Regions from separate parts of the Homo sapiens genome. Here all the other regions are linked to region 1. The links are contacts of gene promoters, found by promoter capture Hi-C in blood cells and fetal thymus (Javierre and others, 2016). All regions are on one chromosome and are shown on one strand. The core of a region is centred on a gene start or on the middle of the fragment in contact, and the rest is flanking DNA. Distances in the headings are between cores, read along the strand shown.

Region 1 (4,237 bases), core at 832-3,331:
TTATTAATTACACACTTACTTGAACATAATTGATAAAGTCTTCCTTGAAAAGGGTTCTTCTCTGGATTTTGTACTCTAGATCGGAAGCCTTCTTAATGATAGCCCTGAGGAGAAAGCCATTTAAACTTCACTTGAAAACTGCAAAAATTAAACGTTTAAGTTTATTTTGAATATATTTAAAACATGTTTTTCAAAATACGAAATTCCTAGAGTTATCTTTCATAAGAAAGTATTATCGGCCGGACACAGTGGCTCATGCCTGGAATCCCAGCACTTTGGGAGGCTGAGGCGGGTAGATCAAGAGGTCAAGAGACTGAGACCACCCTGGTCAACATGGTAAAACTGCATCTCTACTAAAAATACAAAAATTAGCTGGGCGTGGTGGTGCGTGCCTGTAGTCCCAGCTACTCGGGAGACTGAGGCAGGAAAATTGCTTGAACCTGGAAGGCGGAGGTTGCAGTAAGCCGAGATCGCGCCACTGCCCTCTGGCCTGGCGACAGAGCAAGACTCCATCTCAAAAAAAAAAAGTATTCTCTTACACAATTACTTTTGTGTTCTTAAGGGTTCATTTTTAAACTTTCAGGAAAATCATCTTAATCAACTCCCAAAACCAATGACATTCCCACCAGCAAAGCAAATACAATTAAGAACTTTATACCATTTATGTATGGTGTTTTTTTTGTTTGTTTTTTTCTCGCTCTGTCGCCCAGGCTGGAGTGCAGTGGCATGATCTTGGCTCACTACAACCTCGGCCTCCCGAGTTCAAGCGATTCTCCTGCCTCAGACTCCCGAGTAGCTGGGACTACAGGCGCTCACCACCACGCTCAGCTAATTTTTGTATTTTTAGTAGAGACGGGGTTTCACCATATTGGCCAGGCTGGTCTCGAACTCCTGACCTCGTGATCCACCCACCTCGGCCTCCCAAAGTGCTGGGATTACAGGCGTGAGCCACAGCGCCTGGCTGGTATTAATAAAGACTTCTTTTACTCCAAGTTCAGGTCACTTAAATTTTAATAATAAATTTCTTTCCGAAATTCCTCTTATTTCTGAGTTCTCAACATGTAAATTTTTTTAAAAATCTAAATTGCGTCTGCCTTAAAAGACTTATTACTACGAAGGACTTACGGGAGAAGATTCAGAGTCCTTAGCTAAGGAATGAACATATGACAAATATATATTAGGAGAATTTAATGCAAGATGTGCAAGACAGGTGTCTTTAGTAATGGTAACATTAACCTTAACTGAGCACTTTCTAAGCGTCCACACTGCTTTGTTTTGTGTTTCATTAACGAATGCTTACTTTGAAGCTCTGAGTCACATTACTACATTCAGACGTTGCAAAACAAAGCAACAGTCACAGAAACCATTAAAAACTATTAAACATAATTTTAACACGCTACTGAATGTCTACCATGTGCCAGGCGCTGTAGTTAGGCTCTGGAGTAGCATATGAAACTGATTTCAATGGTCCCCACCTTCAAGTCTAGTTAGGAATTTATCCACTCCCCCTGGGCTCTCACAGCACTCTGTTCCCATCCCTACAGCAGTACAAGGTACTACAATCAACTTACAGTACACTGTTATCAAAATATTTAATTTGTCTGTCTCCCCCACCACACTCTGCCCAATTAGCTCCTAATGAGCAGGAATCCTGGGTTTATCACCTTTACAGCCCTAAGACCCGGCTCCATGAAGGGCTGTCAAAACGTCTGATGGGTAAGTAGACGGACGGATTACCTTGCAACGAATGAAAAATTAATTCTGGACATCACCGAAAACGAGAAATGGGCTTCCACCACGTTAGGAAAAGTAAACACAGGTCGAGCGTCCCCACATCTAGCCCCTGCCACACACTCCCAACCTCCCCTCAGGCCGCCTCAGCTCTTCCCTCTCCCCAACCCTCTCTCACTTAATCTCCGCATGACTGAACAGTCCAATGCGCTCCAGCTGTTCCAATTCCGGGAGCCGATCTTCTATGCGTTCCTGAATTATCTCTGCCATGAGGTCCGAGGTCTACAACCCCGCGGGTAGCTTCTCAACAGCGAACACGAGCAGGAAGCTCCCGGTTTCAGGTTCGGAGACCCAGCCCTACCACCGACGCGTCCGGACGTAACGTGCTCCCTAGGTCCCGCCTTTTCCGCTTCCGCCACCTCCTACTTAGGGGAAGGCCCTTCGGCTTCTACAGCCACCGTCCCCTCCCTGTGGCCGATTGTGGGATTGCAGCGAGAACCCGCCCTGGTCTTGGGCAGGACGACTCTAGCGGACAGGAGTTGAGGGGCGGGGCTAGACGGGAGGGAGGGGTTAAGTGCGCGCGCCGCTAGACTTGGACAGCCATCAGGAAAAGCGCCTCCAGGTGTAGAGAGGTGGGCTGCTCAAGCCTGAAAGGGACACGAGATGCATTTTCTTCAGAATATTGTCTCCCATCCCACGTCCTGACTTCCCAACACCAAGAACAACAACAAAAAAAAAAGCAAAGGAGGAGGATATTGTACAATTAAACATTTTTGAAAGCCGGTCGCGGTGGCTCATGCCTGTAATCCCAGCAGTTTAGGAGGCCGAGGCGGGCAGATCACCTGAAGTCAGGAGTTCGAGACCATCCTGGCTAACATGATGAAACCCCGTTTCTACTAAAAATGCAAAAAAATTAACTGGGCGTGCTGGCACGCGCCTGTAATCCCAGCTACTCGGGAGGCTGAGGCAGGAGAATCGCTTGAACCTGGGAGGCCGAGATCGCGCCATTGCACTCCAGCTTGGGCAACAAGAGTGAAACTCCGTCTCTAAATAAATAAATAAATAAAATAGAATTGTTTATTATTTAAATCAATATCCTGTCTTTGTAAGCAATAGCTTTCAAAATATATGTCCCTAGGTGAATATCAGACACTATAAATTCTTTTTAGAAAAGGAGATTTTTGTATTGAAAAGTTTGAGAATTACCAAAATAAATCACTAAGGTATAGACACCCTCCTTAAACCATTGCCCAAGCAACTTAGCATTTCTAAGAGAAACACCAGGCAACACAGCTTGGAGGCAATATTGCTGGTATAGTTAGTAAACCTCAAATGATAACTACATGGTTCAGTTCTTTTTTAGTTCTGGATATAAAAAAGCCAAAGCAGCAGTTCTTGCTAAATCTGCTTATTTCAACATTCACATTAGCACCTGGATCCTGTGTGTGATTTATGAAAGGAGAATGGGCTCAGCAAAACCATGTTCCACCTCTGTGCCTTGCATTTCTTTCTTTCCTTTCACATTTTACCCACTCATCTCAGAACTGAGACGAGGGTTGGCTTGTGCTACACCATTTCTTGAATCCTTCAGCTGTAAGACATGTCAGAAGTGGAAGGAAATCACGAATGTAAGACAAAGATAGAATTTATTTGTAAAAGTAAAATCTCTGGGGCTGTGTTAACAGTAAGAGTGGAGATGACACTAGATAGTAAACTCCATATGGGCAGGGAATTTTTTCCTTTTTGACTGGCTAGATACTCTACAGCTTATAGCAGTGCCTACCATATAATAAGTACTCAGTTAATAAATGCATGACACTAAGAAAAGGTACTTGCTAAATTTCTTTAGGTACAAGGAAGTCAGCAAGTTATGACAGACTGTAATCATTTCAAAGTAAATTTGATAGAGACCTTCATAAATTAACCATGATTTTTATTTTATTTTATTTTATTTATTTATTTAGAGACAGAGTCTCGCTCTGTCACCAGGCTGGAGTGCAGTGGCGCGATCTCGGCTCACCACAACCTCGACTCCCCTGGTTCAAAGGATTCTCCTGCCTCAGCCGCCCGAGTAGCTGGGACTACAGGCACGTGCCACCACACCCAATTAATTTTTGTGTTTTTCGTACATACAGGTTTTCATCATGTTGGCCAGGATGGTCTCAATCTCCTGACCTCATGATCCACCCGCCTCAGCATCCCAAAGTGCTGGGACTCCAGGCGTGAGCCAACGCGCCCGCCCAATTTTTAAATCAAACTAACTATAAATACGCTCCTCCTTTATATTGTTTTGTTTTGTTTTGTTGTTCTTTTTAAGACCGAGCCTCGCTGGCCAGGCACTGTGGCTCACACCTGTCATCACAGCACTTTGGGAGGCCGAGGCCACGGATAACCTGAGGTCAGGAATTCAAGACCAGCGTGGCCAACATGGAGAAACCCCGTCTCCACTAAAAATACAAAAAAATTAGCTGGGCCTGGTGGCCTCTCTCTGTTGCCTAATGGGGAG
Region 2 (4,141 bases), core at 168-2,667, 480 kb before region 1:
CCACCTCTGCTTTAGTGGCACAGTGTCTCAAAATTAATTTTTCTTTCTTTTTTTCTTTTGAGATGGAGTCACAATCTTGGCTCATTGCAACCTCCCGCCTCCTGGGTTCAAGCAATTCTCCTGCCTCAGCCTCCCCAGTAGCTGGGACTACAGGCGCGCACCACCACACCCAGCTAATTTTTTTTTTTTTTTTTGAGGCGGAGTCTCGCTCTGTTGTCCAGCCTGGAGTAGAGTGGCACGATCTCGGCTCACTGCAACCTCCGCCTCCCAGGTTCAAGTGATTCTCCCACCTCAGCCTCCCAAGCAGCTGGGATTACAGGTGTACACCACCACACCCTGCCTAATTTTTGTATTTCTAGTAGAGATGGGGTTTCACCATGTTGGCCAGGCTGGTCTCGAACTCCTGACCTCAGGTGATTCACCCATCTCGGCCTCCCAAAGTGCTGGGATTACAGGTATGAGCCACTGTGCCTGGCCTAATTTTTCTTTTAATACTCAAATTCTTAAGCAAAAGTTGTCAGTACCAATGCCAGTTTTTCTAGATTAAAAGAGAGCAGAATACAGATTTATTCTTTCTCTGGTCAGAGCAAGCCCCTAAACCTGTCAGCATAATAATAGTGATTGCAATTATTTTAGCAGAAATAATAATTACTGGCTAAGGGCATGGAGTCTGGAACCAGGCCTCTTGTGTTCAGCCGTCTTCTACGAACTGTGTGACCTTAATTCTGAATGACTTTGCCTTTCTATGTCTCAGTTTCCTCCCCTGTAAAATGGGAATAATAATGGTATCTGCTTCCCAGGTGGTGGCGAGGATTAAACAAATTCATATGCATAGAGCGCTCAGAACAGTGCCTGGCACAAAGGAAGGCTCGCTAAGCATTTGCTTTGATTCCCGTGAGTAATGGCTGACGTTTATTAGGCACCTTGCCTTGCAGACAGCTTCACAGCGGCAAGATAAGCCGGCTTATCTCACTTGCTCAGATGAGGCAGCTGAGATTTCAGAAAGGCAAATGGCTTGCTTGAGTCCATCTGGCCTTCAGACCTTGAAATTAGGGAGGCGTGGGTGGCTGGGCATGGGTTCAGGGAGTATCTGGCTGGTAATCAATCAGACAGCAACGGCAACGAAGCTTTTTAACATCATCTGGTCTGAGCTAGAAGAGATGTGACCCAGGGGACTGAGTGGGGGGAAAAAATCAGCTCAAAGAGAAAGGCAACAGAAATAGAAGGGGAAGCCTGGTAATTGAGTGGCCCCAAAAAGGAAAGATCAATATTTTACTTCCAGTGAACAACCAATTTCCCTGGCAGCAAGCTGGGGCCCAGCTGTGTGTGCTTCAGTGACAACAGCTGCTTCTGCAATGCCTGCCAGGCCTGGCGAACCCGTCTCTCCTGGCCTGGGAGCCAGAGGGGGAGCCCCAGGGCTGCCCAGCCACGCATGGTGTGTGCCCCAGGGTGGGGGCGGCCCCCAGCTCCCCTGCCTGGGGCCCAGGCTCCCCACGAAGACCACATGGGGTGGCTATTTGCTATGCTCCCTGCGTGACCTTGAGCAAACCCCTCCCCCCGCTGGGACCTCGCTTCACCAACTGTGAAATGACGGGCTGGGTCAGTGGAATGTGTCTGGCCGAGGACCATCTGTGGCAAAAGGTTACCTGATGTCCAGGAAGGTCGAGACTCTTTGTGATCCAAGGCGAGGGGTCCCCACGTAGTGAGTAAAGCTTCTTTGATGCTCAGGGCGCCAGGGGATAGAAAGAACACTTTAGTGCAGACAGCCCCGTGAGAGTCTCTGGCCCAGGAAGGCAACAGGGAGCAGTGGCTGACTCTCTGGGGTCAGTAAGACCTGGGTTCAAGAGTTGCCACTACAGGTGGGCAAAAATTTTAAATTTAAAAAAAGGAAAATAAAAGGGGAGCGTTACCACTGCAGTGACTTTGTCTAAATGTCTTACCCTCTCTGAGCCTCAGTCTCCTCAATTTAAAATGGGGGACTATAATAATAGCTACTGTTAAGTTTGCTGTGAGGATTAAATGAGACTATGTGTGAACCCTCCGTGGACTCCAAGCATTTGCAATACTTCTCCACATAAATGATGCTGTTATTTATTTTAAAAATCACTGAGCCTGTGGTTGATGGTATGTATTGGTAATAACCAGCATGCATTGTTCTAATAATTTCACACCTGTTTTCTTTTTTTTCTTTTTCTTTTCCTTTTTTTTTTTTTTTTGAGACGGAATTTTGCTCTTGTTGCCCAGGCTGGAGTGCAATGGCACCATCTTGGCTCACCGCAACCTCTGCCTCCCGGGTTCAAGCGATTCTCCTGCCTCGGCCTCCCAAGTAGCTGGGACTACAGGTGCACACCACCATGCCCAGCTACTTTTTCTTGTATTTTTAGTAGAGACGGGGTTTCACCATGTTGGCCAGGATGGTCTCAATCTCTTGACCTAGTGATCTGCCCACCTTGGCCTCCCAAAGTGCTGGGATTACGGGCGCCAGGCACCACGCCCAGCCCAATTTCACACTTGTTTTCTAAAGGGCAGGACATCAGTGTGCCTGGCCATTTTTGTTTTTTGTTTTTTGTTTGCTTTGAGACGGAATCTTGCCCTGTCACCCAGGCTGGAGTGCAGTGGCACAATCTCGGCTCACTGCAACCTCCACCTCCCTGTTTCAAACGATTCTCCTGCCTTAGCCTCCCTGAGTAGCTGGGACTACAGGTACACATGACCACGCCTGGCTAATTTTTGTATTTTTAGTAGAGACAGGGGTTTCTCTATGTTGGCCAGGCTGGTCTCGAACTCCTGACCTCAGGTGATCCACCTACCTCAGCCTCCCGAAGTGCTGGGATTATAGGCATGAGCCACTGCGCCCGGCTGGCCTGGCACTTTTGTGGCCACTACTCTGGGGCTGCCACTCTTTGAAGAGCCCTGTGGGAGCAGCTGTAGAGAGGTCACAGCCTGGGGTGTGCCCCCGGTTGCAGCTTGGGCCATGGCGTGGGTGCTTCGGGGACCATGCAGTGGCCCTCAGTACCCCATCTGTCTGCCTGTCATCAAACAACCCCACCCCCACCTCTGTCCCAGGTAGGCTTTTGCTGGCAGAGGAATGGACAGCTCGCCCCACCAGTGTCTCCCAGCCTCAGGGAGCTGTGGACACAGGGATTACAGAATCCAAATCCCTGCACTCCTGCCTCCTAGGTGGACTTGAGGTGAGGGTCCTCATCAGTCAGTCAGCACTCTGTGGCCGACTCCACCCTTGACTTGCTTCAGAAATAATGAAGGCAGAGCCCTGACCTTGGAGAGGACTGTAGGCCTGAGCATGGGAGGCTGGAGGGTAGAGGGTGCCCTGGCTCATCCCCACATTCACAGGCCCCCTATAATGCCAGCGATGCAAAGGCAGGAGGAGAGGAGGCGGAATGCCAGCCAGGATGGTGGGTGGGCTCCCCTGCAGCCCTGCAGGTGGCACCTGGGCATTGCTATTCTCAGAAGCCACGTCATTGCCTGGCAGTGTCAGAGGCTGGCATGGCTGGGGGGAGGGGGCAGCTGCAATGTTGAGGAGGCTGGCAAAAAGCCACTTTCCTCCTTTACTGAAATTTTGCAGGTCTTTCCTGAGAGCCCACTAGGTACCAGGTTCAGGGAGGTTCACAGAAAGAATGTGGCACGGCCCCTCTGCCCTTCCCTCACCCCAGACTCACCCCAGAGTGGAAAAGCAGGGTCAGCTGGAATCAAGATGCAAGCACAGAGCCGCCAGGTTCCAGGCAAGGAGAAGATGGTTAGGGTGGGGCCTCTTTGTCCACTGCTCACCTTCCAAAGCCCACTGGGCACAGCCCCCATGGTGCCAGGCCACCGGCAGTGACCAGGGCTTCAGACCCCTGCTGCAGCTGCCACGCTGTGGGCATGCAAGAAAAACGTGGTCCCTATAAATAGATGAATCCCCAACGTGGTTTGGCTTCGGTGCCTGTGATGGGTGGTGTGGTATGCCGGCGAGTCTGCCTGTGATGGCGTGAACACTGACAACAGTGACTGTGAGCAGTTTCCTGCATGCTGTGCTCTGCAGGCCCCGGGTGCCCTCAGATCCATCATCTGCAGCCCAGCCTGAGCAGATTCTGGAAAGAGCTCATCCTGGCCTGGCTGTGCTATAGATACTGATGGTGATTAT
Region 3 (4,081 bases), core at 1,384-3,883, 500 kb before region 1:
GGGGGCTGCACCTTGCATATGTCTTGGAAACGTGGTCCAGGCAGAGGCAGGAGCCTGCCCAGGGGCTTAGAGGCACAGTGAGCCCGAAGACAAGGGTGGGGCCAGTTCCTGTGGCCTTCCCTGCAGGGGCTTTGGCTTTCTTGGAATGAGATGGAAGCCCCCAAAGGGTTCTGAGCGGAGGAGATACAGGATCAGACTTAGGTTTAATGGGGACCACCCTGGCTGCTGTGTGGCTCCTCGGAGAGGCAGAAGGGGCCGGGGAGAGGCAGGGAGACCAGCACCAAGGCTAGTTCTTCACCCAGGTGATGGGCGCTGGGGGCCAGGAGCAGAGGAGAAGCCGTGGAGCAGTGGCTGGATCTTGAAAATGGAGCCGATTGGCAGTGGGAGTGAGCAAGAGGAGACTTTGGAGACAAGCTGCCGTTGCTGGGTGGGGAGGCAGAGAGGAAGAGGGCTGGGTGAGGACTCGGGAGCTCCACGTTGGCCTGTGAGACCTGAGTGCAGCTGTGGAGCCAGTGGCGATGGACAGGTCTGGGGACCACGCTTCAGCCCCCACCGCCTGGCACATCCTGGGCTCTTTCTCCCTTTCCTTCTACCCTGGCCCTGGGGTCTCATCTCATTGCCCACAACAAAGGAGTTTACAGAAGCTGACCTAGGTGTGGTCTGGCCCCCTTTAAAAGTGAGGCTTGGCCGGGAGCGGTGGCTCATGCCTGTAATCCCAGCACTCTGGGAGGCCAAGGCAGGCAGATCACGAGGTCAGGAGACCCAGCCCATCCTGGCTAACACGGTGAAACCCCGTCTCTACTAAAGATACAAAAACAAAATTAGCTGGGCATGGTGGTGGGCGACTGTAGTCCCAGTTACTCGGGAGGCTGAGGTGGGAGAATGGCATGAACCCGGGAGGTGGAGCTTGCAGTGAGCCAAGATCACGCCACTGCACTCCAGCCTGGGCGACACAGCGAGACTCTGTCTAATTAAAAAAAAAAAAAAATGCCAGGCTTGCCCCAGCATCTTCAGATTCTTGGAGACTCCCCCAGGGGCCATAGCTTAGGGTCACCAATTCCCTGCAACCTGTCACCCCTGAGGTCACTGCTGAGGACCCATTGTCCATAGCTTCTGTGCCCTTGAGGGCAGGATGAGCAGAGCAGCCCAGAATCCTTATAGGTTTCTATAACAACCCATGACCCAAGACGGGGAGCAGGCTCCATACAGCTGTAGCCCAGATTCCAGCTGTAAGGACCTCTGGCTTCCCTGGAGACCAAGGCCTTGAGTCCAACACACACTGCAGTTGCTGTGGCTCAGGGCTTACAGGCGCAAAACCCGGAGAAGATTGCCAGCTTCCTCCAAAGTGTTTGCTGATGACACATGGGCCTGCAGTGGGCACTGTCCCCAGGAAGATCCCAGTCTAAGGCTAGCACCTGGACAGGATAGACAGAGGATTGATTTGAACCAAAACAAAAACCAGAAGGGGAGTAGAGGTCATTCAATGAGACTCCCATTCAGTGCCTGCATCACTCAGTAGCCAAGAGACAGGGACGCGCTGCCTCCCAAGGCAAGCCCATTCTCACCTGGCAGGGCTCTGGCTGAGTTCTTGTTCATATAACGAGCTGAAATCTATCTCCTAGAGTTCCATCTGCTCACACTTCCTCCACCCATTCATCCAACCATCTGCCTGCCGGTTCACCTAAGCATCCACTTACCCATCCATCTACCCATCCATCATCCCTTCCATCCATATATACCCAACCATGTACCTCCTGATCCATCCGTCCAGTGAACCGCCCATCCAACAGTCCATCCACCCATCCATTCATTAGCCACGCACCCCTTAGTCCACCCATCTGTTTATCCACCCTTCTGCCCACTTCCGTAGCCTCCCCATCTGTCCATGCATCCATCCATCCATCCATCCATCCATCCATCCATCCATCCACCCACCATCTACCACTTCCTGAGTATCAGTCATGCAAAAGTCCTAAGCACAGACCCAGGGATGGGGACTGGTATTTTCAGGGAGTGACAAGTGTCTCCATGTGGTGAAAGGACAGGGAGGGCAGGGAGACTGAGAACTCAGGCTGGAACAGGGACCAGATGGTGACTTTCGGGAGGGCTCAGGAGCTGGGAGGGTCTGAGTAGCTCAGATGAGTTTTGGATGAGCAGCAACACCTCAGTGCAGTGATTCCTGCCCTCTATGGAATCAACTCTTTTTTATGATTTCTCACTTCCCACACAGGCCATTGGGTCTGGCAAGAGCTGGGACCTTGCTGAAAAATGTGAAGGCTCAGATTATTTTATTTATTTTTATTTATTTATTTATTTATTTATTTATTTATTTATTTTTGAGACAGAGTCTTGCTTTGTCGCCCAGGCTGGCGTGCAGTGGCGCAATCTTGACTCACTGCAAGCTCTGCCTCCCAGGTTCACGCCATTCTCCTGCCTCAGCCTCCCAAGTAGCTGGGACTACAGGCGCCCACCATCACTCCTGGCTAATTTTTTTTTTGTATTTTTAGTAGAGACGGGGTTTCACCGTGTTAGCCAGGATGGTCTCGATCTCCTGACCTTGTGATCCACCCGCCTTGGCCTCCCAAAGTGCTGGGATTACAGGCGTGAGCCACCGCGCCTGGCCAGATTATTTTTAAAGGTGCTTATTATGATAGGTGGACCTCAGTTTCCTTATCTGTAAAATAGAGGTCATACCCCTATTTGTGGCACTGTTGTGATGGTTGGAGATTGAATATATAGAGATATATGAGTATGACTGAGCATGGTGGCTATTGCATCATTTCTTCACCGCCCCGCCCCCCCGCCCAGCCATGACCCACATGGGTACTGCGCTGCCCTCAGTCCTAGGACTGCACCTCTGACCCCTTTCTCTGCCCAGTACACCCCAGGCATGGGGCTCCCTTGTGCAATGACCAAAGTCTTCTGCAGCCACTGGTGATTTTCCATGGACAGAGAGGATATGGAGACCCAAGGACTCCAGGACCCACCAAAACTTGCTGGCTGCCTTTGTATTTCTTTCTTTCTTTCTTTTTTTTTTTTGAGATGGAGTCTCGCTCTGTCACCCAGGCTGGAGTGCAGTGGCGCAATCTCGGCTCACTGCAACCTCTGCCTCCCAGGTTCCAGCAATTCTCCTGCCTCAGCCTCCCAAGTAGCTGGGACTACAGGAGTGCACCACCACACCCAGCTAATTTTTTGTATTTTTAGTAGAAACGGGGTTTCACCATGTTGGCCAGGATGATCTCGATCTCCTGACCTTGTGATCCACCCATCTTGGCCTCCCAAAGTCCTGGGGTTACAGGCATGAGCCACCGCGCCCGGCCCTGCCTTTGTATTTCTTAATCCCTTTCGTCATCACGGCAACCAGGAGCCTCCATGAGGTGAAGTGACTTGTCCAGGGTCTTGAGTAACTGGTGGAGCTGGGATTAGAACCCAGGTCTGTCAGGTTCTAAAGCTGCCTTTTTAGCTTCCTGCTGTGGGGGTCTCATGTTCTTAGAAGGTCAGAGGAGGGAGAGAGTGACCTGATCTGAGTTCCAGAAATCTAACATTGGAGAAATCTGAAATTTGAGACTTCCTCTGGCTGGGGACTTTGAGCCTGGGGTGGTCTCGGTTGGGAAATGCGCAGATCAGAAGTAGGTCTGGGCTCTGCAGGATGGGCGGCCAGGGGCCCTCTCATGGGCACTGCATCCCAGCACTGGGCAGGGAGGGAGGCTGCCAGCGAACTGTGCCCAGAATTATGCATCTGCGCCACTTCCTGTTCAAATGGTGATTCCATGGCCCCAGGAGGTGCGCATTTCTCTGACTGCTCCGATTTCCTGCCAGGCACTCATAGGTAATCCTCTGCAGGCCCAGGCTGTGTGGGGCTGAGTCTTCTTTGTCTCCAGTTGGCCGCCCCGCCAGCCCGTGGACCACACACTCCTGTTCCTGCATCCTCCTCGGCCTGCACTGCAGATCCTCCCCAGTCAGAGGCCCTGCAGCCCCAGCCGGCCTTGGCCCCATCCTGCTCTCCGCCCCGTCCCCACTTCCACTTTTCTACTGCACCTCAGATCAGGCCAGGCCATCTCTCAGGTTCTCTCCCTGCCCT
Region 4 (4,145 bases), core at 550-3,049, 350 kb before region 1:
CAAACCCCAAAGGTCTAACCCCATACTTGGGGACAAATTTACCAATTTGGAATAATACACTGATAGAAATGAAACCAGCCAACCCTCTCATTTCACACTGCAGAAACAGGCAAAGAGAAGGAAAGTGATTGTTCTAGGTCACCCAGAAAGCTCTACTTTTATCATAGATATTATGCTTGTCTACAGCATGAGCTCAAATCTTCTAGGAAAAGTCATCTTCATTATTAACTTGACATGCACCCAGGAGATGGTCTATCTCTTTGCCAGCCTGTAGGCCAAACTGGCACCTCACTTGTCAAACACTCATGCCTGATCGATAGGAACAGCAGATGGTGACCAAAATCACTATACTTGATTACAATATTAAGGCTTTAGGGGCAAGAGAGGGACACAGATATACACTGTCAAAGGTTGGAATCCCCAGAAGGCAGACCCCTAGACAGAGCTTAATGTGCAGAATGCTTATTCCACCTGGGAAAGGGTGGGAAGCAGGTGTGAAATGAGGGAGAGCCCCCCTCCCCCACCACTCACTGGATGTGGGCTGTCCAGAGAGCTTAGACTAGGCGGCTCTAATGGCAGAAGACAGTCTGTTGACAGCACTCCAAGCAGCTGGGACAAACCCTTTCTTGAAGGGGTAACATGGCACAGTGACCATCACACACAGAGTGGGAACTTAAAGACAAGAATCAATTCAGTCACAGAGAGTGAGGGCAAAGATAAAGCTCATAGGCCAAAGGCTTAACTTCTGGATCAAGGGCTCTAATATTTTCCAGACATGGGCTTTGGCTACTGAAAGCATTTCAAAGAACACTGAGTAAGAGGGCTGGGACCTGGGGCCAGTAGGGATCACTGTGTGACCTCACTTCCCAGGAGTCATCCTCAGCATCACGTGCAGAAGGCCAGCCTGGGTAGGGAGCCTCAGGTCACCTGCCTCCTCCCCAGACCCCATCATCCAGGAAAACTGAATTCAGCTGAAAGCACAGCCATGGCATTGCTGAAATATGACAACACCTGGAGACAATGGATTCCTTTCTGGGGAATTTACCCCTCTGCTGCTGCTTGAGGGCAAGCGTCCTGTCTTCTCTTCCCCTGGTATATAAAATGAGGCTCTTCATTTGTTGGCTGAATGAATGAAGGTCAGAAAAAGAAAACTCAACTTCTCATCCTCCAGTAATGGAACAATCAAGTTGGGAGAAATCACAGAGAAAAAAATCACGTCCCAATTTTGCTGATGAGGAAACTGAACTTCAGAGGCAGGAAATAACTCTCAGAAGGTTGCAGAGAAGGTGAGGAATCGAAACAGGCCATAAGCAGTGACAAGTCTGGTAATGCCAGAGTAGTTTTTCTGCAGTAAAGATTTCCCTTCCTGCTTGCCTTTCCCCTGATTCTGGGGCTCTCCCTTGGTCCAGATCATTTGGGCCGAGAGAAACAAAACCCAGGTGCATTGCCATCTAAGCAGAATATGCTGAGAAAATCACCCTCACAAATTCCATAGTCACCTACAAAGTACTTCAGGTTATCACCAGCCCTTTTCTCCCTCTGGTCCCCAGGATGCGTATGTCTTCTCTCAGAACTCTTTCTGGGCCGGGTGCAGTGGCTTACACCTGTAATTCCAGCACTTAGGGAGGCTGAGGCAGGAGGATCACCCGAGGTCAGGTTTCACTAACATGGTGAAACCCCGTCTCTACCAAAAATACAAAAATTAGCTGGGCATGGTGGCGGGCGCCTGTAATCCCAGCTACTAGGGAGCCTGAGGCAGGAACCTGGGAGGCGGAGGTTGCAGTGAGCCGAGATTACGCCAATGCACTCCAGTCTGGGCAACACAGTGAGGCTCTGTCTCAAATAAATAAATAAATAAATAAATAAAAATAACAGAGAGATGTTAATATCATCATCATCATGGTATGTTCTTGAAGTTCTCAAACAGCAGGAGGTAACCCTGTTAAGTGAAACCAATTTAACAGCTTGTAAACAGCATTCTAAAAATGAAACGGTAACACAGAATATATATTTGAGTGCATAAGAATTGTTTCATAAAACATTTGTTTTACACATGTACATAGATACATACACATATATACATACGTACACACACAGGTATTTCCTATCATGGGGCATGACTGAGTTTGAAAGCTACTGTTCTAAGGCAACATTTCTCTAAAGATGATTGAAAGGAGTGTTTTTCTTTCTTTTCTTTTTTTTTTTTTTTAATTTTTGAGACAGGGTCTCACTCTGTTGCTCAAGCTAGGGTGCAGTGGTATGATCACAGCTCACTGCAGCCTCAACCTCCTGAGCTCAAGTGATCCTCCCACCTCAGCCTCCCGAGTAGCTGAGACTACAGGTGCGCGGCACCACGCTTAGCTAATTTTTTTTGTTTGTTTTTGTTTTTGTAGAGACATGGTTTCGTCAGGTTGCCTAGACTGGTCTTGAACTCCTGAGCTCAAGCAATCTGCCTGCCTTGGCCTCCCAAAGTGCTTGTGGCTTACAAGCCTGAGCCACTGCGCCTGGTCTATTTTTCTAACTTTAGTAATTTGCATTTGCATACCACTGCCATTATTGTTGTCATATCAGAATACTACCTATAACATTATTTACTAAATTCTTGTCTTTGAGTTGGCTCACTTTAACCATTTTTGCCTCATTGTAACAGCAATATTCAGAAAATTTATATTTAATACTACATATTACATTTTTTTCCATCTAAAACCATCTCTCATATGAGCACCACCTTTTGGGAAACGCTGGTGGCAAGGAGTGTCACATGCAAAAGCCCCTTCCAGAAGTCAAGCTGGGAGCCAGAAAAGCTGTATGATGTTGGGATGTTGGGTGAGCCCCCACCCCCTGCCCCCGGGGTCCTTCTCTGCCCCTGGAGGCAGGCCCAGTCCTGCTGCTGGGTATCCCAAGTTCTTGTGGTTGACCTTCCCGCAGTGGCCACCTCAGGAAGAAAAGGGCAGGCCCTATCTGCCTGTGGACTGGATCTTTCTTGGGATGTTCCCGCCAGTGGAAAAGGCCAGGACCTCGATCTGCCTTTCTGTAGTGAGCTGCATCCTGCTGCTGCCCCAAGATCGAAGAATTTCCTTTCTTGTCCAGCTTTGATTCCATTGATGGGATTAGGCACCCCCCACGGCCGTGTCCTTTGATGTGGTCAGGGGGTAGCAGGGAGATTTCAGGCCCAGGGAGCAAATCTTAATCTTCTTCGAGCTTCTCTGGGATCAGCACCGGGGTAAACCCATTACAACCCTGCCCTTTCATCCCCCCAGGACACCGGCTCCTCCCGGCTCCTGAGTCTCAGAGATCCTAAGGGTTTGTCAGATTTGGAGCGAGCAATAAAAGGGGAAGAGAAAGCAGAACACTAACTCCAGACCCCCTCCAGCCCCGGCTGCATCTCCAGCAACGTCAGGGCATCTTCTTTCTTCCCTTCTAATCCTGCGCTCCCACAAAATGGCGATTACAGAGGCCTGGGGCCAGCGCTGTCCATGCCCCAGCACTGGGCATCTCTGCCAGCGCTTGGCCGCCATCCCTCCCCCAGCTACGCACTCCTGGGAGCACCAGCTCCTGGACATGTCCTACCCAGGGATCCCGATGTGGGGATCAGATAAACCAGATATACCACTCAACCCTTACCAAAGTGAAGTTTAGAGACAGGGTCTCCCTCTGTCACGCAGGCTGGAGTGCCGTGGTGCGATCATAATTCACTGTAGCCTCTAACTCCTGGGCTTCAGCGATCCTCCCACCTCAGGTGTGTGCCACCACGCCCAGCTAATTTTTTTTTTTTTTTTAACTTTTTGTAAAGACAGAGTCTCACTATGTTCCCAGGCTGGTCTCAAACTCCTGGGCTCAAGCAATCCTGCCTTGGCCTCCCAAAGTGCTGGGATTACAGGTGTGCGCCACCGTGCCCAGCCTCATAGTGAGATTTAAAGGCATGATCTGGGTTGGTGAGGCCAGGAAAGAGAAGGCAGGAACATAGCTAATATCTATGTCGGGACACAAACAGATATGTCACGTTATTTTCTTTAAATGGCTCCAAATCTCGACCTGAAGAGGTTGGGAAACTCAACCTCAGTGGTTATTTGGGCTTCCCCATCACCCACGGTGCCTGGAATCCTGGCCATCTTGAGGCTGGGGATCTTGGTAGAGGCCTGGTT
Region 5 (4,364 bases), core at 205-2,704, 320 kb before region 1:
TGTTTTTTTAACACAGGGTCTCTCTCTGTCTCCCAGGTTGGAGTGCAGTGGCTCGATCTTGGGTCACTGCAGCCTCAATCTCCGGGGTGCAAGTGATTCTCCCACAGCCTCCCAAGTAGCGTGTGGTGTGTGCCACCGCGCCTGGCTGGTGGTTGTTTTTGTTTTTGTTTTTGTTTTTGAGACAGAGTCTTGCTCTGTGGCACAGGCTGGAGTGCAGTGGTGCGATCTCGTCTCATGGCAACCTCTGCTTCCTGGGTTCAAGTGATTCTCCTTCCTCAGCCTCCCGAGTAGCTGGGATTACAGGTGCCCACCACCTCGTGCGGCTAACTTTTGTATTTTTAGTAGAGACAGGGTTTCACCATGTTGGCCAGGCTGGTCTCAAACTCCTGGCCTCAAGTGATCTGCCCGCCTCAGCCTCCCAAAGTGCTGGGATGACAGGCATGAGCCACCACGCCCAGTGCCTGGCCATTTAAAAAATTTTTTTTGTAGAGACGAGGTCTCACTATGTTGCCCAGGCTGGTCTTGAAGTCCTGGGCTCAAGCTTCCCAAAATGCTGGGATTATAGGCATGAGCCACCACACCTGACCAGTTATTATTTTTTTTTTTCTTATGTTCCTCAGGTGAGTCTCTTAAGCAATCAGAGGAGAACTGTTGGGTTAAATGCCCACAAGCTAGAGATGGAAGAGGTTTCCTCCAGCTTTGCCTTCAGAGCCCGATCAAGGGATGTGACCATTTGCAGTTGGCCAACTTTCATTTCCGTTACTGTCTCTGCTGCTCAGTCATCTTTTGATCCTCATTTTGCAAGCAGAAAACTGAGGCTAAGGGGATCGGGGGACTTATCTGAAGACACAGAATATGGCAGAGATGAGATGTAAAATACACAACTTCTGACCCTCCAGATTAGTGCTGTTTCAGTAGTACTAGTCATTAGTATTCATGATGAGCATATGGATCATAAGAAGCATATTCTTGTGCTTAATAATAATTGGACACTTGGTCATCACAGTATGCTGAGGCGTGGGTAGGGGCTGCCCCAGCAGGGTGAGTCATCATCCCCTAGTTTCCCAATGCTCTGTGTCCCCTGCCAGCCAGCCTGGACCCACAGCTGCCCGCAGCCTGCCCTGTTGCACTAATCCCAGCTGTGGGCACGGTGAGATTTGGCCCCATTTTACACATGAGGAACAGGCTCAGAACACTCAAGAGGCTTGGCCCATGTCACCCAGCTCTCCTTGCCTGGACAGAGGCATCTAGGAAGGAACACAGCCCTGCATGGGGCTTGCTTGTCTGAGTCCTCAGGGACAGAGCTCTACTGGGGGTGCCCAGGTCTCTAGCAGACTGTCCCTGCCCCTCTCTCCTTCCTGCCCAGCTCAGCTCCAGAGGCCTGGCCTGCGGGCAGGCTGGGCAGGCAGCCAGCGCAGGGAGCTAACGATGGGTGCATTGTCGGCTCCAGGAAGTGGTCAGCTGTTCCCTGGCAGGTCTGCAGAGCCGGAGGACCAGCCTGCCTTGCTCGTGGAGGGTAGAGATAGAATCTGGGAGCTCAGAACACCATTTTCCCGGAGCCCAGTGGCTCTGGGCCAGCCCTCGGGCTTCCTTTGGAAGGGAGGGCCCCGTGTACTCCTCCGCTCCTTCCTTGCTTGGCATTGGCCCTCTCCCTCCTCAGTCTGGCTCTCACCGTCCCCCGGCCCAGCACTTTGCAGCAGAGTGTACACTCTTGGCAGCGATGTCCATTAAACCTGCTTCCCAGAAAGCAGCATGGCTGTACAGGCAGATTCAGCCAGCACCTTAGTGGGAGATGGGGCAGTGGGCATCAGCTCAGGCTTTTCTTGCCCAGGTTCCCTGGGGAGCTGGGTTGGAAGATAGCCCTAAGCTGCCTTGGCTTCCTGCTTCCTGGATCAGAAGTGCCCTCAGCTCAGTCAGCAGCCTAGCCGCTGGACAAGGCTGAGACAAGCGCTTTGACCTCCTGGAGTTGGGCTGGGACGAGCCTTTGCCTGGGAGTCTGATCAAGGCGGTCACTGAGCTGAGAACCTGGGGTAAAGCTCCCTGCTGAGCCTGTTGCCTCATTTGTTTGATGGGTGCCATAGTTCCCTGTAGGAATGTGGGTACTTTCTAGGCTTCTTCCAAATAGATACAAGAAATTGTGGCTGCCTTTCCCTTCCCGGCCAGGAGTACACTTCAGCAGAGAACTCAGTGATGCCTGGCATGGGGAAGATGCCCAGTGAATGGTGGTTGCCCCACACGGCTCAGGAAATGAAGTTTGGGTCACAGCCTGAGGATGGTGCCTTCCATCCTTGACCCTGCAAGGACAACCTTTCCTGACAGTCTCCTCCCTGGGTGAAGTATTGGGACAGTGGCTCTGGACTGGAAAACTGAAGCTTTACCTCTTTGCTCTGGATTCCCATCAGGTCTAGATTGCTGAGGCCCAGCGCCCACAGAGGCATCTTCCCCTCTAGGGGGTTTGTCCTATAAGCCCGGACTCCGTCAGCTCCGAGGCACTCCTGCTGGGCCTGGGCCAGAGTGGCTGATGTGGAACTGCTCCCTCCCCTGCCAGCTTCCTTGGGGTGCAGACAGCCCAGCACAGGCAGGAAGGGCTTTCTGTTTGGCTGGACTGGTGGGGAAGCAATTAGTGCTTACTTTCTGTTTTGATTCTTGTAGCTAATAGGCAGAGTTTGTGATGTCACGGAAAAGCAGCCTTGGGCCCGCGTGGGTTTGAGGTCTGTCCCTGATAGTCTGGCCAATGTGGAATTGTCTGGAGGTAGGGGTGTATGCTGACACTACTCCCTGGGTATGAGGTGGCCATCTGTTGGCTTTCCATGCCCCCTTCTGATAATACCTCTTTTAATACCTCTTTTTTCTGTTAATAACTTCAGGAGATCACTTCTCCCCTACCCTGTATCTCTGGGGTTCTGGTGTGGCCAACCCCAAACCCTGGCTTTAGACACTGGCATGTGTTCCAGGCCTGGAGGCCAAGTCCTGAGACTCTGCCATGGGACATCTGCAGCAGTTATGGGGAAAGAAGCATTCTTTTTCTGAGGGAGTTGCTGTATTGATAGGATGTAGGCTGGGAACTGCTGGTGGCCATCCTGTCCTCAACTTGACAAAGCCAACAAAGAGGAAAGAAAATGAAGAGATGAGGCCAGGCACCGTGGCTTGTAATCCCAGCACTTTGGGAGGCCCAGGTGGGCGGATCACAAGGTCAGGAGATCGAGACCATCCTGGCTAACTCAGTGAAACCCCATCTCTACTAAAAATACAAAAAAATTAGCTGGGCATGGTGGCGGGTGCCTGTAATCCCAGCTACTTGGGAGGCTGAGGCAGAAGAATGGCATGAACCCAGGAGGCGGAGCTTGCAGTGAGCTGAGATTATGCCACTGCACTCCAGCCTGGGCGACAGAGCAAGACTCCATCTCAAAACAAACAAACAAAACAAAGAGATGGAGAGTATGGATCCAGACATCAGTGAGCCCCTGGATCCAGCCATGCCTGAAACCAGCTGCAGCCTGGACTAACCTGATTTTGTGAGCCAATACATTTCTTTTCTTTTTTCTTTTCTTTTCTTCCTTCCTTCCTTTCCTTTTTCTTTTTCCTTTTCTTTTTTCTTTTCTTTTTTTAGAGACAGGGTCTTGCTCTGTCATTCAGGCTGGAGTGCAGTGGTGCAATCATAGCTCACTGCAACCTCAAACTCCTGGGCTCAAGCAATCCTCCTGTCTCAGCCTCCTGAGTAGCTGGGACCACAGGCACATGCCACCACACCCGGCTAATTAATTTTTTTTTTTTCTAGTGATGCGGTCTTGCTGTGTTGCTCAGGCTGGTCTCAAACTCCTGGCTTCAAGTGATCCTCCCACCTCAGCCTCCCAAAGCACTGGGATTATAGGTGCGAGCCAGTGTGCCTGTCCTTTTTTCCCTAAAACCAGCCTGAGTTGGGTTTCTGTCACAGAAAGGGTTTTAATACAGGCAGTGTTTTTCTTTGGTCTTGTATTTTTTAAAATAAACTTTATTGAGGTATACTTTACATGTAACAAAACCCACCCGTAAGTGTATAATTCATAAGTTTTGTCAAATGCGTGCACCCTTGTAACTATTGCCACAATCATGATGTGGAATATTTCTTATTTGCCCCTAAAAGTTTCTTTATCCCCTTTATGACCAATCCCTCTGACTCAGACAACCTTGATCTGCCTTTGTTTTGCAGATTCATTTTGCCTTCTCTAGAATTTCATGTAAAGGTCATCATATAGCATGTACTCTTTTGTGTCTGGTTTCTTTTACTCAGCATGTTTTTGAGACCCATCCACATGTTGCATGCATCTCAGTAGTTCGTTCCTTTTTATTGCTGGAAGGCATTCTATTATTCTATTGTATGGGTG
Region 6 (4,431 bases), core at 1,133-3,632, 450 kb before region 1:
TCCTCCCACAACCGCATCCCCCCCAGCCCCACCCACAGCCACCTGCTGCTCTAGCACTAGCTAGAAAAGTCAGCCCCTGGGCATTCTCAAGAATTGAGCCCACCCCTTTGTCAGACCATTCTCCCAGGGCAGAGACTGGCCTGATCACATGAAAACCACACCTGCCGAGCCAGAGGGCAAATGCTCCAACATTGTATTAGAGAGATTAAACAGCTGTTCTCAACCAGATCATTGCTACATTCCATTTCCTGACCAGGAAAATGAAAATGGCTGTCATAGAAGACAGAGCATAAAGTCTGATTCTTTTCTTTTTGAGATGGAGTCTCGTTCTGTCACCCAGGCTGGAGTGCAGTGGTGCGATCTCAGCTCACTGCAACCTCCGCCTCCTGGGTTCAAGCGATTCTCCTGCCTCAGCCTCCCGAGTAGCTGGGACTACAGGTATGTGCCACCACGCCCAACTAATTTTTGTATTTTTAATAGAGATGGAGTTTCACCATGTTGGCCAGGTTGTTCTCGAACCCATGACCTCAAGCAATCTGCCCACCTTAGCCTCCCAAAGCACTGGGATTACAGGCATGAGCCACTGTGCCTTGCCTAAGTCTGATTCTTAAGATGGAAACTCAGTCAGGCGGCCATGGCTCATGCCTGTAATCCCAGCACTTTGGGAGGCCGAGGCAGGTGGATCGCTTGAGGTCAGGACTTCAAGACCATCCTGGCCAACATGGTGAAACCCCGTCTCTACTAAAAATACAAAAATTAATCAGGCCCGGTGGTTCCTGCCTGTAGTCCCAGCTACTCGGGTGGCTGAGGCAGGAAAATCGCTTGAACCCAGGAGGCAGAGGTTTCAGTGAGCCAAGATTGTACCACTGCACTCCAGCCTGGGCAACAGAACAAGACTCCTTCTCAAAAAAAAAGATGGAAACTGTCTGTGGGCTCTAGGGAGGCAGTGGAGGTGCCAGGTGAACTGACGATTAGCACCACAGTGGGAACAGGCAGGAAGAGGACTGGTCTCCAGTCTCTGGTCTCCTGTCTGAACAAGTCTGTAGGGGAGGAAAAACTTCTCCTCTACCCTTTTATGTTATGTCTGCAGTCTGCAAATAAAATTGAGCAAAGACAGATTAATAGAAAAAAGGCATACGAATTTTATTGTTGTTTTTAATTTTACATGCATGAAAAGCCAAAGAGATGGTCAGACCCAGGGTTTATATACAATTTTGACAAAGGAAGATAAGTTGTGGGCAAGTAACTAAACAAGGAAGAGGGGGATTTGGGCTCCTAAGGGCAGTATATTCTGGGAAGGTAGCTAGGAAATGTGTGTTAGATTGGGGGTGGTGGTTTAGATGTGTTATACAGATACATAACCTCCCCATTGGATTTATTCTCCTTTTCATGGGACGGGAGAGGGGGGCACATTTACAAATGGAAATTTATGCCCTACTTTCAGGCACCTAAGGGGAGGGCAGAGAGCTCATCCTGTGTCTGCTGTTTCTCAGTTGCCTTCAGCTCAAAATAATCCTTATGCCAAAGTGGCGTATTGCAGGGTGGCATATTTGGATCCCCTTCAAGTTCCTGCCTCAGTCCCTTCCCCAGTCCTCTGCCTTGTACACATGGGTACCTCACTGTACCTACTCAAACTAGGTCTCCTTTGACCACAGGGAGTGGGTCTGCTCTGATAATGTGTTGATAATTGGTTGACTTTACAACCAATATTTCAAAACAACTGCCTTATCGAGCCCAGCCTGGGGTTTCTGTCTTGTGCTGTGACTTGCAACATTCTTGGTCAGACCCCTTCTCCTCAAGGGAAACTTTAATCTAGGCTGAAGGGGCCTCTGAGATGGGTACCAGGCAGGAGGCATGTCAGGACCCTTACCTGCTGCAGTGAATGTCAGCTTTGCCACCTTCAGGGCTGACGCTCCCAAGGCAGCTGCACTCACCCTCCGCTGAGAGTGCCATCCTGGGCTTACAGGCAGAGGCTCAGCTCTGACATGTGATATCGGAGAAAGTCAGTCATCTTCAGCATCTTCAGGTCATGTTAACCCTATTCCTTTAGATTTTCCATTATCTATCCTAATACCAAGTTCCGTGTCAGAAAGCGCTGTTTGCTCTTACCTCCTTGCAAATACGTCTTTACTGTTGTACATTTTGTTTTTATTCTCACGGCTCATTGAATATTGCTTCAATTTCATTAGAATTGCTACAGGAAACCTTACAGCTGATTTGTCATCCTGTGTACTCTTTGATCCAATATATTCTTTTTTTGAGACAGGGTCTCACTGTCACCCAGGCTGGAGTGCAGTGGCACAATCTTGGCCCAGCCTTCTAGGCTCAAGCAATCCTCCCACCTCAGCCTCCCAGGTAGCTGGGACTACACACATGCGGCACCACTCTCAGTTAACGTTTGTATTTTTTGTAGAGACGGGCTTTCACCATGTTGCCCAGGCTTGTCTCGAACTCCTGAGCTCAAGCGATCCGCCCCCCTCAGCCTCCCAAAGTGCTGGAATTACAGGCGTGGGCCACCCTGCTGGCCCCTAGTACATTCTTTTTAGGATTTTGTACCAGAAAAGAAGTCCTTCCTGATGAAATGATACCTTTTTACATCAGATAACAAGAGTTACAGCATAACTATCCCCTTGCTGTCCTTTTTGGTTTTGGTAAGTCAGAAAACTTAGAGCTAATGAGACTGGTGAATCAATAAAATCTGCCTTTCCATTTAATCATTTACCTCCTTTTTCTCTATGGTTTATTTTTATTTTTACTACTCTAGCTATGAATGTGTCTTTTATTGTAAATAATTTCATAGCTGTCAGGAAGAGATAAAAAGGAATCTTGATTTACTAAGGAGAGACTTATTAAAGGATTATTATTGCCTGGGGGTGGTGGGGAGGGGACTATTCCAATGGAAGCGGGAGCATTGCAGTGGGAGAGAGCACTGACCAGAAGATCCTCCTGCACCTCCAAAGTTAAGCCGAAAGGGTTGTTCTTTTCTAGGCAAGAGTAAACAAGGCTTGAAAGAACTGGTGCGGGGAGGTAGGTTGAAAAGGTGGCCTGGTCCTGGGGGCCTGTCTTAATGCAGGCCAACCTGTCCTCCGGAGGGCTGTAAGGAGGGATAGTGAGTTGCTCAGGTGAGGGTGGCCAAAGTTCACAGAACTGGGGGAAAGAGAGAAACTAGAGTTTAGTTAACAAGCATCGTGTTTTAGGTAGAGAATGGGAATTTGGAGGGCCTTCCTCACAGGTTCTCGACTGTGTTCTCCTGGGGGACGAGGACCAGCTTCATGGCTTGCTGTGCCCTGCGCTGGGCCTGACCAAGTTACTTGGTCCCTGTTTGTTCACTGACGTTGACTGAGGGCCTTTCCAGAGTCAGGAGCTGACCTCTCACAGAGATTCCAAGAACTAGCAGGTCACACTCTCACCTCTCCCCAGGGGTCCCCAGTTCCGGCCATGCCCTGTGTCCTCTCCTTCTCCTCAAAGGGGTCCCCAGGCCTAACCTGGGGAAGCACTATCCATTCCCTCTCTCACCCCACCCCAGTCCCCCCTGGAACTGGCTTCCTGCCTGCTTCTTCCCCTTTCTCCGGGGTGGGGCGGGACAAGGTGGAGGGAGAGTGGGAAGGAGAGGAGGAGTCACCCAGCTGCCTCCTAGGACTGATAAGAGACCCAGCGGGAGCTTTGAAGGCTGTTACAGCCTGGGGGTGGGAGCAGGCCTGACCCCCACCACCCTCACCCCCAGCCCCGCAGGTGGCCACACCCCTCCTGCTGCCCTACCCTCTGTCTCTCAACTTGGCCCTTTCTGTGCCTCTGTGCTCTCTCTCTTTGTGTGTGTCTCTGTCTGCATGTGTGCCTCCCTCTCCGTCCCTGACTATCCTCCCTTCCTCTCTCTCCTTTTCCCCTCCCCGCTCTGTCTCTTCTCTCTATCTGCACCCCATCTCTCTCTGTCCTGAAGTCTGCATTCTCAACACAGGGAACCTTCCAGTCTGACCCAGGTCTCAGCAGGAGCCAGACAAAAGGCCTTGAGGGAAGGGACAGATGGAGTGTCCCCATGCTAATCTCCTTTAACCACCCCCAGCAGACCAACCCTGCCAAGTAGGTACTGTGGTACCCATTTCGCTGATGAGGAAGTTGAGGCTCAGACAGCAGTTAAGACGTGTGTCCAAGGCCTTGGGGCCACAGTGTGCAGGGCCAGGATTTTTAGCTGCATCTGATCCAGTTGCCTCAGAATGCGGGCTGAGTCCACCTTTCCTGAGGCTCCTCAGGTGTCCCAGGCCTCTCCTCACTCCCTCCACCCCATCCCTGGAGGCAGGACCAGAGGACTCCTTTGAGGAGCTGCATAGCTTGGGAGCTGCGCATCAGGAGCATCTGCAGTGCTGCAGGACCATCTTCTACCCAGAGGCATGAAGCAAAGTATCATGGGAGCCCCGCAGGGCATTGCGGGGAGGC

Evidence for each region. Contacts are between HindIII fragments. The CHiCAGO score rates a contact against its expected background, and 5 or more counts as called.
Region 2: a contact is called between a fragment that was not itself captured here and the fragment with the promoter of UTP6 in region 1, in 4 of 17 cell types (M2 macrophages, M1 macrophages, M0 macrophages and 1 more). The highest score is 9.0, in M2 macrophages.
Region 3: a contact is called between a fragment that was not itself captured here and the fragment with the promoter of UTP6 in region 1, in 1 of 17 cell types (endothelial precursors). The highest score is 6.0, in endothelial precursors.
Region 4: a fragment that was not itself captured here is called in contact with the fragment with the promoter of UTP6 in region 1 in 4 of 17 cell types (M0 macrophages, neutrophils, endothelial precursors and 1 more); the score reaches 9.1 in M0 macrophages.
Region 5: a fragment that was not itself captured here is called in contact with the fragment with the promoter of UTP6 in region 1 in 2 of 17 cell types (M0 macrophages and M2 macrophages); the score reaches 7.1 in M0 macrophages.
Region 6: a contact is called between a fragment that was not itself captured here and the fragment with the promoter of UTP6 in region 1, in 2 of 17 cell types (neutrophils and endothelial precursors). The highest score is 5.5, in neutrophils.

What each region holds. Positions count from the first base shown.
Region 1 is chr17:31,899,627-31,903,863 of GRCh38, forward strand. It overlaps UTP6 (UTP6 small subunit processome component), which reads right to left and starts at 2,082. Exons shown (of 19, transcript NM_018428.3): 1 at 1,910-2,082; 2 at 20-104. The coding sequence starts at 2,001. RefSeq lists enhancers at 1,557-1,706, 1,750-2,341, 2,027-2,076. The HindIII fragment of the contact is 12,725 bases long and covers 1-4,237 here.
Region 2 is chr17:31,424,400-31,428,540 of GRCh38, forward strand. All of the region lies in intron 1 of RAB11FIP4 (RAB11 family interacting protein 4), which reads left to right. It overlaps LOC105371725 (a long non-coding RNA gene), which reads right to left and starts at 1,717. Exons shown (of 2, transcript XR_934661.3): 1 at 1,647-1,717; 2 at 885-1,151. RefSeq lists an enhancer at 520-1,247 and a silencer at 918-1,118. The HindIII fragment of the contact is 585 bases long and covers 1,126-1,710 here.
Region 3 is chr17:31,400,302-31,404,382 of GRCh38, forward strand. All of the region lies in intron 1 of RAB11FIP4 (RAB11 family interacting protein 4), which reads left to right. Among named protein-coding and RNA genes, the nearest start is that of RAB11FIP4, 11 kb to the left of the region's middle. RefSeq lists an enhancer at 1-421. The HindIII fragment of the contact is 8,648 bases long and covers 1-4,081 here.
Region 4 is chr17:31,554,274-31,558,418 of GRCh38, forward strand. No RefSeq gene overlaps it. Among named protein-coding and RNA genes, the nearest start is that of MIR193A, 3.6 kb to the right of the region's middle. RefSeq lists an enhancer at 2,778-3,402. The HindIII fragment of the contact is 4,973 bases long and covers 1-4,145 here.
Region 5 is chr17:31,579,758-31,584,121 of GRCh38, forward strand. No RefSeq gene overlaps it. Among named protein-coding and RNA genes, the nearest start is that of MIR365B, 6.5 kb to the left of the region's middle. RefSeq lists an enhancer at 965-1,014. The HindIII fragment of the contact is 1,831 bases long and covers 540-2,370 here.
Region 6 is chr17:31,453,979-31,458,409 of GRCh38, forward strand. The region is part of intron 3 of RAB11FIP4 (RAB11 family interacting protein 4); the gene reads left to right. Among named protein-coding and RNA genes, the nearest start is that of RAB11FIP4, 65 kb to the left of the region's middle. RefSeq lists enhancers at 227-728, 729-1,228, 3,220-4,068, 4,069-4,431. The HindIII fragment of the contact is 6,740 bases long and covers 1-4,431 here.